Linked DNA regions of Homo sapiens: region 1 is linked to region 2. The links are contacts of gene promoters, found by promoter capture Hi-C in human tissues and cell types (Jung and others, 2019). All regions are on one chromosome and are shown on one strand. Each heading gives the region's core, a stretch centred on a gene start or on the middle of the fragment in contact. The rest is flanking DNA. Distances are from core to core; before and after follow the strand shown. Region 1 has its middle 61 kb from the start of PLAAT1. Region 2 holds the start of ATP13A5 (ATPase 13A5).

Region 1 (4,770 bases), core at 1,176-3,675, 200 kb after region 2:
AGTATTCTCTGATGGTAGTTTGTATTTCTGTGGGATCAGTAGTGATATCCCCTTTATCATTTTTTATTGCATCTATTTGATTTTTCTCTCTTTTCTTCTTTAGTCTTGCTAGTGGTCTATCAATTTTGTTGATCTTTTCAAAAAAAACAGCTCCTGGATTCATTGATTTTTTGAAGGGTTTTTTGTGTCTCTGTCTCCTTGAGTTCTGCTCTGATCTTAGTTATTTCTTGCCTTCTGCTAGCTTTTGAATTTGTTTGCTCTTGCTTATCTAGTTCTTTTAATTGTGATGTTAGGGTGTCAATTTTAGATCTTTCCTGCTTTCTCTTGTGGGCATTTATGGTGCTATAAATTTCCCTCTACACACTGCTTTAAATGTGTCCCAGAGATTCTGGTATGTTGTGTCTTTGTTCTCACTGGTTTCAAAGAACATCTTTATTTCTGGCTTCATTTCGTTATTTACCCAGTAGTCATTCAGGAGCAGGTTGTTCAGTTTCCATGTAGTTCTGTGGTTTTGAGTGAATTTCTTAATCCTGAATTCTAATTTGATTGCACTGTGGTCCGAAAGACAGTTTGTTGTGGTTTCAGTTCTTTTACATTTGCTGAGGAGTGCTTTACTTCCAATTATGTGCTCAATTTTAAAACAAGTGTGATGTTGTGCTGAGAAGAATGTACATTCTGTTGATTTGGGATGGAGAGTTCTGTAGATGTCTATTAGGTCTGCTTGGTGCAGAGCTGAGTTCAAGTCCTGGATATCCTTGTTAACTTTCTGACTCATTGATCTGTCTAATATTGACAGTGGGGTGCTAAAGTCTCCCATTATTATTGTGTGGGAGTCTAAGTCTCTTTGTAGGTCTCTGAGGACTTGCTTTATAAATCTGGATGCTCCTGTATTGGGTGCATATATGTTTAGGATAGTTAGCTCTTCTTGTTGAATTTGATCCCTATACCATTATGTAATGGTCTTCTTCGTCTCTTTTGATCTTTGTTGGTTTAAAGTCTGTTTTATCAGAGACTAGGATTGCAACCCCTGCTTTTTTTTTCTTGCTTTCCATTTGCTTGGTAGATCTTCCTCCATCCCTTTATTTTGAGCCTATGTGTGTCTCTGCACGTGAGATGGGTCTCCTGAATACAGCACACTGATGCGTCTTGACTCTTTATCCAATTTGCCAGTCTGTGTCTTTTAATTGGGGCATTTAGCCCATTTACATTTAAGGTTAATATTGTTATGTGTGAATATGATCCCTTCATTATGATGTTAGCTAGCTATCTTGCCCGTTAGTTGATGCAGTTTCTTCCTAGCATCGTTGGTGTTTACAATTTGGCATGTTTTTGCAGTGGCTGATACTGGTTGTTCCTTTCCATGTTTAGTGCTTCCTTCAGGAGCTCTTATAAGGCAGGCCTGGTGGTGACAAAATCTCTCAGCATTTGCTTGTCTGTAAAGGATTTTATTTCTCCTTCACTTATGAAGCTTCGTTTGGCTGGGTATGAAATTCTGGGTTAAAAATTCTTTTCCTTAAGAATGTTGAATATTGGTCCCCACTCTCTTCTGGCTTGTAAGGTTTCTGCTGAGAGATCTGCTGTTAGTCCGATGGGCTTCCCTTTGTGGGTAACCTGACCTTTCTCTCTAGCTGCCCTTAACATTTTTTCCTTCATTTCAACCTTGGTGAATCTGACAATTATGTGTCTTGGAATTGCTCTTCTCAAGGAATATCTTTGTGGTATTCTCTGTATTTCCTGAATTTGAATGTTGGCCTGCCTTGCTAGGTTGGGGAAGTTCTCCTGGATAATATCCTGAAGAGTGTTTTCCAACTTGGTTCCATTCTCCCCATCACTTTCAGTTACACCAATCAAACATAGATTTGGTCTTTTCACGTCATCCTATATTTCTTGGAGGCTTTGTTCATTTCTTTTTACACTTTTTTCTCTAAACTTGTCTCTCGCTTTATTCCATTAATTTGATTTTCAATCACTGATACCCTTTCTTCCACTTGATCGAATTGGCTATTGAAGCTTGTGCATGTGTCACAACGTTCTTGTGCCATGGTTTTCAGCTCCATCAGGTCATTTAAGATCTTCTCTACACTGTTTATTCTAGTTAGCCATTCGTCTAACCTTTTTTCAAGGTTTTTAACTTCCTTGTGATGGGTTAGAACGTGCTTCTTTACCTCAGAGAAGTTTGTTATTACCGATCTTCTGAAGCCTACTTCTGTCAACTCGTCAAAGTCATTCTCCATCCAGCTGTGTTCCGTTGCTGGCAAGGAGCTGCAATCCTTTAGAGGAGAAGAGGCACTCTGATTTTTAGAATTTTCAGCTTTTCTGCTCTGGTTTTTCCCCATCTTTGTGGTTTTATCTACCTTTGGTCTTTGATGCTGGTGACCTACAGACCTACAGATGGGGTTTTGGTGTAGATGTCCTTTTTGTTGATGTCGATGCTATTCCTTTCTGCTTGTTGGTTTTCCTTCTAGCAGTCAAGGCCCTCAGCTGCAGGTCTGTTAGAGTTTGCTGGAGGTCCACTCCAGACCGTGTTTCCCTGGGTATCACCAGCAGAGGTTGCAGAACAGCAAATATTGCAGAGCAGTAAATATTGCTGCCTGATCCTTCCTCTGGAAGCTTTGTCCCAGAGGAGCACCCACCTGTATGAGGTGTCTGTCAGCCCCTACTGGGAGGTGTCTCCCAGTTAGGCTACACAGGGGTCAAGCGCCCATGTGAGGAGGCAGTCTGTCTGTTCTCAGAGCTCAAACGCCATGCTGGGAGAACCACTGCTCTCTTCAGAGCTGTCAGACGGGGATGTCTAAGTCTGCAGAAGTTGTCTACTGCCTTTTGTTCAGCTATGCCCTGCCCACAGAGGTGGAGTCTACAGAGGCAGTAGGCCTTGCTGAGCTGCAGTGGGCTCCACCCAGTTCGAGCTTCCTGGCTGCTTTGTTTACCTATTCAAGCCTCAGTAATGGCAGATGCCCCTCCCCCAGCCAGGCTGCTGCCACACAGTTCAATCTCAGACTGCTGCACTAGCAGTGAGCAAGGCTCTGTGGGCATGGGACCTGCGGAGTCAGGCACTGGAGAGAATCTCCTTGTCTGCTGGTTGCTAAGACCTTGGGAAAAGCACAGTATTTGGGCTGGAGTGTCCCGTTTTTCCCAGTACAGTCTGTCATGGCTTCCCTTGTCTAGGAAAGGGAAATCCCCTGATCCCTTGCACTTCTCGGGTGAGGCAATGCCCCACTCTGCTTCAGCTCACCCTCCATGGGCTGCACTCACTGTCCGACCAGTCACAATGAGATGAGCCAGATACCTCAGTTGTAACCACAGAAATCACCTGTCTTCTGCATTGATCACACTGGGAGCTGAAGACCGGAGCTGTTCCTACTCAGCCATCTTGGAATGGAAGCCCATAGATTACTTTTTTAAAAGCATGATTTCTATGCGATTTATTCATTAGCTCATTTTAAAATTCATTTAGCAAACTTATATGGAGCACCCAGCTGTTAAGTGTATCAGGTCCAGTCCTTGACATAGAGGATACGGTAATAAAAAGAAAAGACTAAATCCCTGTGGTGAGAAAATTTACATGACAGTGGGAGAAGAAAGGTATAAATAAAAACATACAGAACACATTGGTTGTTAATAAGCACTCAAAAGAAAATAAATTGCATTATGATGTACAGAGAAAAAGATTGGCAGGTGGAGGCTGCTATTTTATAGATACTGGTCGAGGAAACACTTTCCAATAAGATGACATTTAAACTGAGGCCTGAGTGAAGTGAGGAACTGAGTCATTAGCAATAGTATTCCAGTTAGAGGTAACAGCAAGTGCTATGACCTTGAATATGCTTAATGTGCTGAAGAACAGCAAAGTGATCATTATGGCTAAAGTAGAGAAGGAATTGGGAAGTAAATCATGCAAGGCTCTATGATTAGAAGCCACTGGACATTGTAAGCAGAGGAACGGAATATTTTTTCATTTATATCTTGAAAGGCTTATTCTGGTTGTTGAGTGTAGATAGTAACTAACGGGCAATGGAAGGCAGAGTTTTCTTTCAGAAAACCCTTTAATAGATAGGGTCTATGGAAGGTTCAGGCCTTGGACCAGGGTAGCAGGATGGAAGAGCTGGGAAGTGACCTGATTCTGGATATAGTTGGATGATAAAGTCAATAGGATTCGCTAATGGATTGACTAAGACTTATGGAATAAGGAAAGGGGTCAAAGTAGGTGTTGGAATTACAATGGTAAACAAAACAGACAGGGCCCTGACCTCAGGGAGTTTATCTACTGGTGGAATAGGCAGCCAATAAACAAATAAATGTGATTACATTTTGTGATGAGTACTGAAAAGGAGACAGCAGAGGCTATTGCTACAAAATAACAAGGGGTGCCTGCTTATAGTAGAGTAGTCAGGGGCGGCCTCTACCAGAAAGGGGTATTTAAGCTAACGCCTGAAGAATGAGAAGGAACCTGCCATGCAAAGATGCAGGGGTACAGTGATCAGTTGGAAGTTCCAGCAAACATAACAGCCTGGAGGTCTCAGGGCTGAAAAGAAGAAGAAGAAGTCAGGAATTAAAGCAATCTGTCTAGTCTTAAACCTGTTGTGTTCAACTCTCACCTGCTCTAGCACAACGGCTTTCAAGATGTGATCTGTGGACCCCAGAGTTCCCTGAGACCTTTTTAGGGCTGTCTATAAGGTCAAAACTCTTTTCATATGAATACTAAGACATTATTTTCACTTTTCCTATACATTCTTTCATGAGTATACAATGTTTTTCAAAGGCTACAAGACA
Region 2 (4,896 bases), core at 1,850-4,349:
TGGACATTTTACTCTTTGTTCCTTTCTGAGTCTTTCATTGGTCTCTTCCCTCCCTTCTTGTCTCTGAAGGCCCCTGCTCTTATGCTGTATGGTGCTGACAGCTTCCTTCTTATTAGGACAGAGTTTGCCTTTGTGGTTCATCAGGATGCAGTTTTGCTTCTAGTCATAGGCAACAGGGAATCTGACCTCTTCAGATGGAAAAGATCTAAAGAATTCCAGCTTAAGTTATGACCTCCTGAACTCTATGGCTAGAAATACTAGTGTGATCCGGAAGAGGCCACTGCCACCATTCCTGAGGCTGCTTCTCCCAGAAGAGATGCCCTCAACCCTCCAGCACGTGTATAAACATAAAAGGTGACTCTTCCACCCATGTGCCTACAAGGGACTGGCTAAGCCATTGAGGCATGACTGGATCTTCACGTTGCTTATGGGGGTCTGGCATTAGGTCCTATAAGCTATAATGTCTGTTGCAGACCTTCCAGGAGGCAGGGTTTAATGCCATGTGATTACTTTCTTCACAGAGCTTGTCCTCTGGTGGCTAAAGCAATGCTCAGTACTTAAAGACCCTCGAGATTATCTAATACAAACTTTGCCCTGATGAATCCATCATATGGTAAATGGGCCCAATGTCAGCATTCACATCTCTGGGACCTGGAAGCTCAGTGCCTCCAAGACATTTATGAGCATTGGGATTATTCAAAGACTTTAATTTGAAGTGGGTATTTTGTACTTGTACAGGGCAAAGAGTGTTGGTTCCTCAGTGGGAAGGAGCTGAGGCCTTGGGTCTTGGCCGGTGGACAGACAAGAGTCCAGCTCGCCATGGTTGACAAGCTCTTCTTGAGCACACCTTTGTTTGCATCTCCATCATAATTATTACTCATCACTTCCCATCTTTCTAGTCTCAAGTCTTACTTTTATTCCCCTTAATGCCCCGAATAGGTGCTCCTTTCCCACCTCGCTTGACCCTTTCCACACCTTCTGCTCCCAGCCTAGACTGTGCTCACCAGATGCCACTATCCCCCATTCTTTCTATCTGTTAACTTCTGCTTATCTTTGAGATGTCAGAATAAATGTCACTTCCTTTGGGAACCTGTTTGTATTCCATTAAATCTGAGTTTAGTATATTTCCCAATTAAGAGGCTGCTTAGTTATCTGTCATTCCCAAGTAACTATAAACTCTCTCAGGATAGGGGCTCTTTCCTTTACACCATTGTATTCGAGGGCCTAGCACAATGTCTGGAACATCTGTTTTCCAGTACATAATTGTTGAGTAAAAGTGGAATGGAGTCAAGACCAGTGCTATGTATATCTTTGGACTATATGTAACAGAAAACCCAAGCAAGAGTGGCTTTATGAGAATGTTTAATTGTGTATTTAATGTGGTGTTTAGGGGTAGGTAGGTCCATGAATCAGTGGTGTTATAGGCATATAACTTCTTTTGTCCTTTTCTCACCGTAATTTTCATGGTGATTTGCATCCTCCTCACCACCTAAAGATGGCTACCATGCTCCAAGCATTGCATTTTCATGGATCACTTTCAAAGAAAGGCAGAAAGGGGAAGACAGAAAAAAATGTTCTTCTCTCTGTTTCATCAACAAGATAACCTTTCCCACAAGACCATGTCTTTCTCTTCTATTTCATTGTTTAGAACTGGGCCACACGCCGACCCATAGACAAATCATTGACTCATCTTGGTGCTTTTAGCTGAAGTCATGCTGCACAAAGTTGGGGTTCTTTCAGCAAGAAATACAAGTAAATAGCGGATGGGTAAGAAGTGAATGATAGCCACCACTCGTGTCTTTAATGAAGTTTTACTAAAATCCAGAACTCCTTTCTTCAAATATGCATTTTACCTTAGATTGGTACTACTTACAAGGCAACATTCACACCGGCACATTATACTTCAGTATGGGTACCTCGGGAGCCTCTGGCATGAAGAGCTCTAGTTGTCTTCCTGTTTATTCTCATCAGCCACTTTCTCCTGGCCAGAGAGCACGTTGATCTCTCCTGAACACCAAGTTGGACACTTATGCCTGCTCAAGGCAATCAGTGTCTATTTCAGTCAGCAGAAACAGCCAAGTATCATCCCTAATAGTTTTCATTCCCAGCAAATTTTCTTCCATAGTCAAAGTGCAAGGATACAATAAGAGCCAATAAAATGACAAAAGTTTTCATCACAAACAAATTAACTGACTCTGGAATGGATCACAGTATACCTATTTTCTAATCAAAATATCAAATTCAGTGGTGTTGAAATTTGGGCTATATCCTTAATCCTCGGACTTTCTAGCATCTCTTCCCTCCACATACTTTGCTCATTTGAAAACTTTTGTAAACTCTAAAGAGAAAATGAAAAGAATCAAGTTATTAATATAGTTTACTTTTTAAAGCCTCTTTCTTCTTGGTTAGTGTAATGATTATGATGATGATTATTTCTCTCTTAGTGACTGTGGTGGGTGCTATCGTTGGCTTTTTATGACTATCATCTTAAATCTTTATATTACTGTATAGTTATTATTGACATTTTATGTACTAGAAACTGAAATTCCAGATTTTAAGTGATTTGTCCAGGGTCTTCAGTGAAGCACGGATTAGAACTCAGATTTTTCTAATTCCAAAATGATTCCTACATTCTCTATCATGAGCCTACCTCCCTTCCTTCAATTCTCATTGTCACCCCCAATATGTTCATTACTTTTTCAAAGTCTGCAGGGTTTTTATACATCTCTCACTGGCTAATCCTTTTATCTTAGGTTTTTAGCAAAGTGACTATTCTCATTCCTTGGCTGAGACATTTATGGATCGCATACAAAATGATTTCTCCTTCTAGTTTGCCAACTTCTTCCCCCGTCATTCCTCAGGTCTTGAGGCACTCATATCTAGCTCAATAAACAAACACTAGGAAAAAAACCCACAATAACCAGATTAACAGACCAATCCTGTTCCTGAGAAGATTTTCTCTCTTTCCTTTGTTAGTCTAATAGGCAAGGTGTGTACTAAGAGATTTTAAAAGCGCCTGGGAAGAGCAATCACAAGTTGTGACGATTCCAAGTTCACAGAAGCCCAAGGGATTTTGACATTTCTCCAAGGAGTTAGCCAGAAGAGATCCTCGCCGGTTGAGTTCAGATGGAAGAGAACAGTAAGAAGGACCATCGGGCTTTGCTCAACCAGGGAGAGGAGGATGAACTGGTGAGTCTTCCCTTTATTTTATTAGTCTTCTCAAAGAGCCCAAGGCGGTGAGTATGGGCTACAGCTGAATTAGAAAATAGAGTGTAGCATTTATGCTTCAGGCTTTAGGACCTTGAAAGGTTTCAGTCTGGTAAGGTTCCTTAAGGGCTGCAAAGCACCATTTTATTGTGGGGAAACCTGCAGGGGCTGAGAAACTTGTGACCTCTGGATGATAGAATTCTTGCCATCTTCATATGAACCTGTGATGTTTCCTCGCACATTTACAGTATTTGCAGAGCCCCGCATGGTGCTCAGTGGGGTGTCTCCCCCTTATTATCTGGATTGCTATGTGATGGAACAAACTCTATTGAAAACAAGAACTCTTTTTTATTCTCGTGCTTTGGGTATGTATGCATAACCTAGGCTTAGGGGGCTCTGGGCTGAAGTCATGCTTTTTATAAGCGCAGAGAGAAGTTTTAAGCATCAATTACTAAAGAAGGAGTAGAATGTGGCCTGGGATTTTTAACACATATTTTAAACATTTCTCATGTCTCCAATTTTTTCCCCACTCTTGTTTTCATCAAACACACACACACACACACACACACATTTAAAAATAATAATTAAAAAGTTGAAAACTATAGTGTTTATTTGGTGCTGAGGTGTTTATATTTATGATTTTATATAATCCTCAGACCTCAGTGATGAAAGAACTAATCCTATTTAATTGAAAAGAAATCTGAGACCAGGGAGGTTAAATAACTTGCCCAAGGTCATTAGCCTGCAAGGGACAGGCTGGGAATCCAGCCGACTCCTTCTCCACATCCTGTGCTGTTCACCATACAACAGTGGCTCCAGCTAGACAATGAAGAAAGGAGACAGAGACAGACAGGGGAAGGGTCAGAGTGAGGGCACATTTGGGGGCCCCAAAGAACTTGGAGAACATGGTTTGTAGATTAGAATGATGTCAGTTTCCTGGCTGGCATCCTGGTTCCCTGTGAGATCTGGGGCAAATCCATACCGGCTCTCCCTCCACCTATCCCTGTTTGCTACTCTAAGGAAAACATATGATTTCATCTACATCTATGTTGTTCAATAAGGCAGCCATGGGCCACGTGTAGTTTCTGAGCACTAGAAAAGTAGCTAGTCCACACAAAATATGCTTTATGTGTAAAATACGCACCAGATTTTGAAGAATTTAGTAAAAAAAAGTAAAACATCTTATTAATAATTTTTATATTGTTTACACATTGAAATGACAATATTTTAGATAGCTTAGGTAAAAATTTCACCTGCTTCTCTTTACATCTTTAATGTGGCTGCTAGGAACGTTAATATTAAGAAGGCAGCTCATATTTGTGGCTTGCATTATTGTAGCACGCTAAGCTTGACAATAGCACAGCACTTTAAAATCTTCAGAATTAAAGCTTTTAAAGAATGAAAATCTATTCACCTGTGTTCACTGCTGAACAATTCTGTTAGCTCTGATGTTTTCAACATGTAGATAAGAGTGCATGAAAAATTACATTGCTCTTTATTCTTCTCTAACTAGTTGCTTTATTTGTAAAGTTTATAGCCTGATACTTTAATTCTCTCACTCACAAACAGGACATTGGTATCATAGGATTAAATAATGAGCCAGGTGCCCCAGTTTTCTTCATTTTTGCAGGTGATCAAACCCTTTTACAGACACTCACCAGAAATGTCTATTAGGAATCCAAGTAAGCT

What was found. Contacts are between HindIII fragments. The study calls those that stand out against the background at their distance.
Region 1: a contact is called between a fragment that was not itself captured here and the fragment with the promoter of ATP13A5 in region 2, in 2 of the 25 tissues and cell types used here (aorta and stomach).

What each region holds. Positions count from the first base shown.
Region 1 is chr3:193,177,998-193,182,767 of GRCh38, reverse strand. No RefSeq gene overlaps it. Among named protein-coding and RNA genes, the nearest start is that of PLAAT1, 61 kb to the left of the region's middle. The HindIII fragment of the contact is 3,807 bases long and covers 522-4,328 here.
Region 2 is chr3:193,376,956-193,381,851 of GRCh38, reverse strand. ATP13A5 (ATPase 13A5) reads left to right here and starts at 3,099. Exons shown (of 30, transcript NM_198505.4): 1 at 3,099-3,189. The coding sequence starts at 3,127. The HindIII fragment of the contact is 10,323 bases long and covers 1-4,896 here.